Regions from separate parts of the Homo sapiens genome. Here regions 2 and 3 are each linked to region 1. The links are contacts of gene promoters, found by promoter capture Hi-C in human tissues and cell types (Jung and others, 2019). All regions are on one chromosome and are shown on one strand. The core of a region is centred on a gene start or on the middle of the fragment in contact, and the rest is flanking DNA. Distances in the headings are between cores, read along the strand shown.

The links. Contacts are between HindIII fragments. The study calls those that stand out against the background at their distance.
Region 2: a fragment that was not itself captured here is called in contact with the fragment with the promoter of LCMT2 in region 1 in 1 of the 25 tissues and cell types used here (lymphoblastoid cells).
Region 3: a contact is called between a fragment that was not itself captured here and the fragment with the promoter of LCMT2 in region 1, in 1 of the 25 tissues and cell types used here (mesenchymal stem cells).

Annotation. Positions count from the first base shown.
Region 1 is chr15:43,329,295-43,331,994 of GRCh38, forward strand. LCMT2 (leucine carboxyl methyltransferase 2) reads right to left here and starts at 1,279. Exons shown (of 1, transcript NM_014793.5): 1 at 1-1,279. The coding sequence starts at 1,195. It overlaps MAPDA (N6-Methyl-AMP deaminase), which reads left to right and starts at 1,378. Exons shown (of 13, transcript NM_001324366.2): 1 at 1,378-1,565; 2 at 2,606-2,700. RefSeq lists enhancers at 1,187-2,137, 1,370-1,419. The HindIII fragment of the contact is 18,030 bases long and covers 1-2,700 here.
Region 2 is chr15:42,720,920-42,723,619 of GRCh38, forward strand. STARD9 (StAR related lipid transfer domain containing 9) reads left to right here. Exons shown (of 33, transcript NM_020759.3): 33 at 1-79. CDAN1 (codanin 1) reads right to left here. Exons shown (of 28, transcript NM_138477.4): 28 at 2,625-2,700. Among named protein-coding and RNA genes, the nearest start is that of CDAN1, 15 kb to the right of the region's middle. The HindIII fragment of the contact is 4,414 bases long and covers 1-2,700 here.
Region 3 is chr15:42,568,510-42,571,418 of GRCh38, forward strand. HAUS2 (HAUS augmin like complex subunit 2) reads left to right here. Exons shown (of 6, transcript NM_018097.3): 6 at 1-1,485. Among named protein-coding and RNA genes, the nearest start is that of STARD9, 5.6 kb to the right of the region's middle. The HindIII fragment of the contact is 5,134 bases long and covers 1-2,909 here.

The sequences.
Region 1 (2,700 bases), core at 29-2,528:
CAGAGTCACAATCTCTTGAGAGCAAGTGAAACTGGCTCACTCGGCAGTGCCGCCCCTCCTGCTCTCCAAATCCTCCTGCACTGAGAATAACGTCTGGGCTCAAGAAGACAGAGGCGTGGCCATATCTCTTCAGGTTTGGGACCTGGCCCTCGCTACTGACTACGCTGGCAGGGAATACCCCTGAAGGCGAAGCAGGATTTACGCGAGGAAATGCCTCTGAGGATGGAAACACTAGGGTGTGGGAGAGGGTGTCTCCCCTAGAAGCTGCCAGAATGAAATAATGGGCGCACTTCAGATGCCACTCCTCAAATTCGTCAAAGGGTTCAATATTTTCCACCCGCCGGCGTTCTTCTGCGGGAAGAAAGCAGTGATAGAATTCATTCATGTCCACGGCACCGCAGGCGGTCCAGCCAGCTTGAAGGAAGCGGCGCCGCTGCGCCTCCACGTCAGGAAAACGCTCCAGGCCATGCAGGGGGGAGTTTAGCTGCCGAAAATGTTGCAGCATGAACTGGCCAAAGGCGTCTTGAGGCCTCATCTGCTCATAGACCACGAAAAGGGCATTAGGAAAACGCTGGGCTGCCCAGGCGATGAGGGCCGCGGCACTCTCCGGCTCGAGGTAGGTCAGCACCGCCTCGGCCAGGAGCAGAGTGGGTGAGGCTGCGTCGAGCCCCGCGGCGCCCAGGGCCTCCTCCACTCGCTGGAGCTGCCGCAAGTCCAGACCCAGGATGCAGTAGTCTGCGCTCTCAAAGCACAGCGCGGACGCGGGCTCCCCCCTCTCGAAAGGCCCGGTTAACGCGCACAGCTCTGGCGTCTCTCCAATCCTTTCTGCTTTGCGCCGCGCCACGTCCGGAAAATCCACCTCCCAGACTGCAGCCCGGGCCAGGCGGCCCGCGGTTTTTAAGCGAAAATAGAGCGAGTCGAAGCCAGCGCCGAGAGACAAGATCTGCGCGCGAAGCGCGGCCTGGGGCGCGCCAATCTGCTCCAAAAAAGCGCGCACGCAGTGCCTCACGGCGCGTGCGCGGACGTAGTAGCCTCGGTGAATGAGCGGTGCGCGGCGCGCCGCGCCCGGAACCAGCAACGCGGCAAAGGGGTCCTGCACGTACCCGCGCGCGGCCAGGGAACGCTTGCTGAGGGCGCTGCTGTCGTTGGTGTTCTGTACCGCGCCTGCCCGACGCTCACGGCTCCGGGGGCCCATGGCCAGAAGAGACTCAGGAATGGCAGTCTGTCACGGTTGTGAGCCGCCCCTTGGTTAGCACACACCTCACGGACCTCGGTAGGGGGAAAAAAACCACCCATGCTCCTGGACTTCCCCTTCCGCCGGCACTTGTGCGTCACTTCCGGGAAGAGCGCATCTCGCCAACCAGAATTGAGGAGGGTGTAGCCAGTGCTAAGTTCGCTTGCGGCTGACCTTTCTTTGGAATGTCGTGAGTTCCATTTGTCCCAGAATACGGTCCGCTACCGCTGTGACATGAGTGTTAGGGAAGGCGGGTTGTCACGTTTCTACAAGCCTTCCAGTCAAAAGGGAAACCTTGCCTAAGTCCTTGTAGTTGAGAAATCTCTAAGAGGTGAGTCTGTGGGGACTGACGACTTGGCTTCCTTGGACCGCCAAGGAAGGGTCTGGTAGGAGCCAAGAAGGGTCGGCACCACGGACCTTCAGTAGGCAAGGATTAGTTAGCTTCCTTGGGTGCTAATAGTTGCTGATTTATTTAATGCTCTCACAGTTGCAAAAGAGAACCCCATTTAAAACTTGAAAACAAGTCACTAAGGCCAGGGTGCAAACTGAAGAAACCGACCTTTACAAATAATTTATAGACACCTAACAAGAAGACGTTTCCCCACAGATAGTAGACTGTTGATTCCCTTGTATTCCCAGCCCTATGTTAGACTGACGGTGAATAAACCACTCAGCCTCTCTTTCTCATCACACCGCCTTGGAGAATTCTGTGGATTTTAAAGTAGTGTTGAATATGTCCCCAGAAAGGGGAGTCACTGAAGAGAGGTGATTGTTCCCTGTGATATGTTCTGAGCTTTGTTTTTAAGGAGTAAATCCAGGTTAGACTTCAGAATAATCATAAAGTTTCTAAATTGGGTGTCTGGGAGTCATCCATAGGAAACCACTTCCAGAGACATTTAGGAAATTTATCATTTGTTCACTGGGATTTGGTGACTGACTGGCTGAAATAGAAAAGGAAATCAGATAACTTTATGGTTAACTACAGGTGGTACTGCATAATGGTTAAGAGTGTGAGTTTTGGAGTCCAGCAGATTTGGATACTGGAGTCAAGAAAAAGTTTCGTATTTTCCAATGTTTTCTTGTGGAACAAAATGAAATAAGAAAGAAAAGGTTTGGATCAGGATAAAGATTCGGTAATTGAAAAGTGACATTTAGATTTGGTGTTTAAAAGCTCATTAATGGCCTTAGGGAGAGCAGTTTCTGTGGAGCAATAAGGGCAGAATCCATGTTTCAGTGAATAGGAGGTGAGTTAAAGGAGGTATCCAGTCTAAATTATTATACTTTCGAGGAGCTTAACTCAGAAGGAAAAAAGGGTCAGGGCAGTGGCTAAAGAATATTGTGGGATAAAAGAGTCTTTTGTTTTGTTTTCAGGTGGAAGCAAATACTGCACATGCGTGTTGGTCCTGTGAGGGAAACCAGCTAGTGGAGAGGGAGAGGTTGAAGGAACAGAAAAATGAGAAGACAAC
Region 2 (2,700 bases), core at 89-2,588, 610 kb before region 1:
CTCTTTTCATATAAATCTCTTACTAAGACTACTGACCAAAAAAGAACATTTTAAAATTAAAAGTCCTCTGTGTACTTTATCTAGTGAAGAGTAGATGAAATCCTGCACCGGGATAGCCTAAGTGTGTGATTCGAGCTTGGCAGATTAGCTGGAGATCACCCTGGCAATACCCACTCATAGCTGTTTCAAAGATTCAGTTTACATGTATGTACAGTTTCCCATGAACTTGGCATTGCTTTGCAGGGTAAACAGCAACCAGGTAAGTTGCTCAACTATAGCCCAAGTAAGAACTAAAGGGGAGAATCCAGAACAGTCACTGCCACACCTAACAGTGACCACAGTGCCCTGGGGCTTCTGAGGCAGAGCCACCTATGGGAATCTGAGTCAGGGGATAACCAGGAGGTGACCCTGCCCGCCTTAATAGAGAAGCCAGCCGGGCATGGTGGCTCATGCCTGTCATCCCAGCACGTTGGGAGGCTGAGGCGGGTGGATCACCTGAGGTCAGGAGTTTGAGACCAGCCTGGCCAACATGGTGAAACCTGTCTCTACTAAAAATACAAAAAATTAGCCAGGCGTGGTGGCATGTGCCTGTAATCCCAGCTACTTGGGAGGCTGAGGCACAAGAATTGCTTGAACCTGGGAGGGGGAGGTTTCAGTGAGCCGAGCCGAGATTGTGTCACTGCACTCCAGCCTGGGCAACAGAGTGAGACTCTGTCTCAAAAAAAAAAAAAAAAAAAAGCAACACCAGACCTGACTGAATCAGCAAGCGAAAGATTGAGAGGGATCTTGTAGCAAAAAGCAAAAGTGGAGTCAGATTTTGGATTCATGGCGTGGTTGTCATACTTTCGCATACATCAGAATCACCTGAACGCTTTCTTATGCCCCAGGATGGGCCCTACCCCAAGTTACTGGTTTGGTAGCCCCGGAGAAGGACCAGAGAATTTGTGTTAACAAGAAGTCCCAGGGGACCCTGAAGTTTGCTGGTCTGGGGACCACATTTTATAAACAGCTGGCTTTGACAATTAGAGAGCAGACATACAGAATCTAGTTCACTGACCCACTAGCTGCCTGTCTCCATAATCCTTAGAGTAGCCTTTAAGGCTCACACAGGCCAGCAGGAAGTTTCCTTCATCGGGAACATGTTAAATTTCCATTCAGATTCCCAAGAACTTGTTTTTAACTCAGTGGGCCTTAAGCCAGGCCTGGGTTATGGCCCAGCCCTTCAGTCTCAGCATCCTTAGGGGTTTCAGGTTTTCCTCTCCTGCCCATTCCATGTCACACACCTCAGCTGGGTCCTCTGGAACAAGTCAAGGAGTAGCCACAAGCCTGACGCTGACCCTAAGCTTCCTGGGTGGGGGCGGTGCTATGGTTTAATCACACCCAGTGCTGGTCTCTGGGCATAGAAAGCTTTTTTTTTTTTTTTGAGACAGACAGGGTATCGCTCTGTAGCCCAGGCTGGACTGCAGTGGTGTGATCATGGCTCACTGTAGCCTTGACCTCCTGGGCTCAAGTGATCCTCTGACCTCAGCCTCCCAAGTAGCTATGACCACAGGCATGGACCACCACTCCTCACCAATTTTGTATTTTTTAAAGATGAGGCTTCCCCATGTTGCCCCGGCTGGTTCAAACTCCTGAGCACAAGTGATCCTCCCGCCTTGACCTCCCAAAGTGCTGGGATTACAGGTGTGAGCCACTGTGTCCGGCCGAGAAAGCATTCCTTAAAGCTTTTTTGGTTCCCAGGCATTCAGAACAAATTGGATTTAAAGGATAAAGATAAAGGCCTTTGAAAATGAAGAGATCAGGGGAAAATGGTTCAGATATAGAAACTTGTTAAAGGAGTAGCTGAGCTGAGGAGAAGGGAAAGGCATGGTGTTTGGGAGAAGTATGATCACAAGGTGGTGACTGAGGAAAACTCCCATTTTTTACTTTCTAGGTTGATGGGATTTCCTGGCTCTACCATGGTCACACAAGTGGACCCCTTTAGGTCCTCCTGAGGATTATATTATCAGTCCAACTCCTGGTTATTAATGCACATGATCACAGTAGTGCTTTTTTTTTTTCCCCTCAAAGAGATGGGGGTCTCACTCTTGCTCAGGCTGGAGTGCAGTGGCACAATCATAGTTCACTGTAACCTCTAACTCCTGGACTCAAGTAGTCCTCTCTCTCGGCTTCCCAAAGCACTGGGATTACAGGTGTGAACCTGTCAAAATCAGTGGCTCATTTATAGAGCTTGATACAGCTGTAATCGAGAAGCAATGCTTTTGCTCTGAGAAACTCCAAGCCAAATCAATCAAACAAACACCTTAGCCTTAACAAGCTTAACAAGAACACTGCCCCACCATGTGGTTCAGTAGGGAATATCTTGTGTGTGGAAACTACATTATCCTAACCCTTTCTCCCACAAATAAAGCGAGTTACACAGGAGAAGTCAGTACCACTGGCGATAAATTAAATTAATAGATATTGCCACCAGAGACTAGCCCTCTAGAGTGGAATATACAGGCATTTCTAAGAGCCAAGGTAGCTCACCTTGTAATGCACAGAGCAAAGCCACAATTACAGCGCTCCACCTACAGCCCACCCGAGACTGCAGCCTTCTAAAGGGAGAAGACAGGTGACAATGATTAGACATCAAGCCCTTGTTAAAGAAAACCAGTTTATTCTAAAAAGCTCTAAATGCCCTGTGCTTGGTCCCTGGTC
Region 3 (2,909 bases), core at 7-2,506, 760 kb before region 1:
AATGTCAATTAAATTTCCAACACTTGAACTTTGGGGGACATATTTAAACCTTAACAGGAGGGCTCCACTCACTGAAAAGAGTCGTTCATGGTAGCTAACCTGTGGTTTGTGCTGAAAACCTGCTTTCTTCCTGGGAGTCTAGAATTTTGGTACATGGTAGGTAGAAGGTACCTACGTGACCAGCCCCCAGTAAAAACCCTGGGCACTGTATCTCTAACAAGTTTCCCTGGTAAACAACATTTCTCACATGTTGTCACAATTCAGTTGCTGGTGGAATGAAACAACAGATATGTGTGACTCCACTGTTAGAGGACTCTGGAAGCTTATACCTGGTTTCCCCCAGACTTTGCCTCTGTACCTTTTCTCTTTGCTGTTTTGCTTCATATGCTTTTGCTGTAATAAATCATAGCTGTGTGATGATATGCTGAGTCTTGTGAATTCTCCTAGCAAATCATGGAACCTGGAGGTAGTCTTGGAGACCCTGGCATACAAAGCAGTTCCTAAGTGTTTACTGGTAGCTGTAGGAATAGGCAAAGAAGAAACAGCAAAGAAAAAGGCACACTGTGGTATAACTTTGGAGGTTTACCTTGCAAAATGCTCAGATATTTTACCTATCAGAGGTTATTGTGCATATAATAGAGAGTGATATACTAACAACTGCCTCAGGATATACTCTTTTTAATCAGTATTGTAACTAACCTTGGCTTATTTTACTTTTAGACTTGGGGTTCTATTTTGCTTTAAAACATGTACATCAGTTTTGTTTTTTGTTTTGTTCTTTTCTTTCCTTTTTTTTTTTTTTTTTTTAAAGACAGGATCTCACTCTGTCACCCAGGTTGCTGAGAGTGTGGTGTGGCCCAATCTTGACCTCACTGCAGCCTTGACCTCTCAGGCTCAAGTGATCCTCCCACCTCAGCCTCCCAAGTAGCTGGGACTATAGGCACGCGCCACCACGCCTGGCTAATTTTTGTATTTTCTGTAGAGACAGAGTTTTGCCATGTTGTTGAGGCTGGTCTTGAACTCCTGGGTTCAAACGACCCTCCCGCCTCAGCCTCCGAAAGTGCTGGGAGTACAGGTGTTAGCCACTGCGCCTGGCCTCATTGTACTCCTTAACACAAGAAGACTTCAACAATGATAAGTAGTTGTTTATAAGGAAGCAGGATCATTACCAAAATAAATCCTGCTAAAACAACAGGAATCATGTTTTAAAGCCTAGTTTGCTAATTTTTGCTAGTAGGATAAGAGTGATCGTAATATCTCGAACATTACATAGACACTTAAAACCTTTAGTTGTATTTCATCAAAAATCTGTTCATACCCCACGTTGGTTTCAAAACATACTATGCTTTTTCTTCGTGTTATTTCCTATATTCATTTTTGTGTGTATGTGTATGTCACAAATATTGATATGCCTGGTTGTTTATTTTTGTTTTCTATTATGCCTTTTTCAAAATATAAAAATAAACTTGTAATTTCTAACTAAAATTTTTTAGTCCTAGTCTGAATTTAAAGTGATAGAAAGGACTGATGCACTGTTTAACTTATACAGTATAGGCATATAGGCTCTCAGAATCAAAAGAGCTTGAGGTAAGTTAAGCCTGAGGTCTACTTCAAAGAGAAAGCTAATTTAATACTCTTCCAGAGTCAATCAGTGCTGATTAATTTTTCTTTAATTATTCAACTTTTAGATGTGTGGATATTAAAAAAAAATTAGCTCTGCATGCCTTTTTTTGTTGTTGTTGTTGTTCTTGTTTTTTAGATGGTCTTGCTCTCACCCAGGCTGGAGTGCAGTGGCACAATCATAGCCCACTGCACTCTGAACCTCCTGGGCTCAATGGATCCTTCCACCTCAGCCTCCCAAGTAGCTGGGACTACAACTGTGCCCCACCACACCCAGCTAACTTTTAAATTTTTTTGTTGAGATGAGGTCTCGTCGTGTTGCCCAGGCTGGTCTTGAACTCCTGGGTTCAAGCAATCTTGGCCTCCCAAAGTGCTGGGATTACAGGTGTTAGCCCCTTGCACCTAGCCTGAATGTCTGTGTTTCCTACTTACACTAGAAGAGGTGTGTGAGATTTGCAAATTTATTGCCAGCATAACAGTGATGCCAGTTTGTGAAGACCATTCTGGAGGAATTGAGATGCTGCCTGGTTTTCCTAGCATTTTTCTTATTTTCTTTCTTTCTCTATGTGACTCTACCAGTCTGACCCCTGATTTATCCTCTGAAACCCTCAATGAAGTCAGGAACAGTCTGAGGAATAGCAGAACCTAAAAGATTTCTTGACATGCAAAATCTATAATAGAGTTGAGATTTTAATAAGACTGTAATTAGTGTATTGTGGGATTTCTTCACATATCTGTAAAACACATGAATTTACATAAAAGATTTATCTCACAATTTGGGGAATCCACTAATTGAGTTTACTAAAAAAATTATGCATTAGACCCTTGAACAATATAAGCTTGAAGTGCATATGCAATTTTTTTTTTTTTTTTGAGACAGGGTCTCACTGTCACCAGGCTGGAGTGCAGTAGTGTCATCTCAGCTCACTGCAACCTCCGCCTCCTGGGTTTGAGCAATTCTCCTGCCTCGGCCTCCCAAGTAGCTGGGATTACAGGTGCACACCACCATGCCCGGCTAATTTTTGTATTTTTAGTAGAGACAGGGTTTCACCATGTTGGCCAGGATGGTCTCGATCTTTTGACCTCGTGATCCACCCACCTCGGCCTCCCAAAATGCTGGGATTACAGGAGTGAGCCACAGTGCCCAGCCACAATTTTTTTTTCAATAAATATATTGGAAATTTGGAGCTTTGTGACAACTTGAAAAATTCACAGGTCAGGCACAGTGGCTCACGCCTGTAATCCAGCACTTTGGGAGGCGGAGGCGGGTGGATCACCTGAGGCTGGGA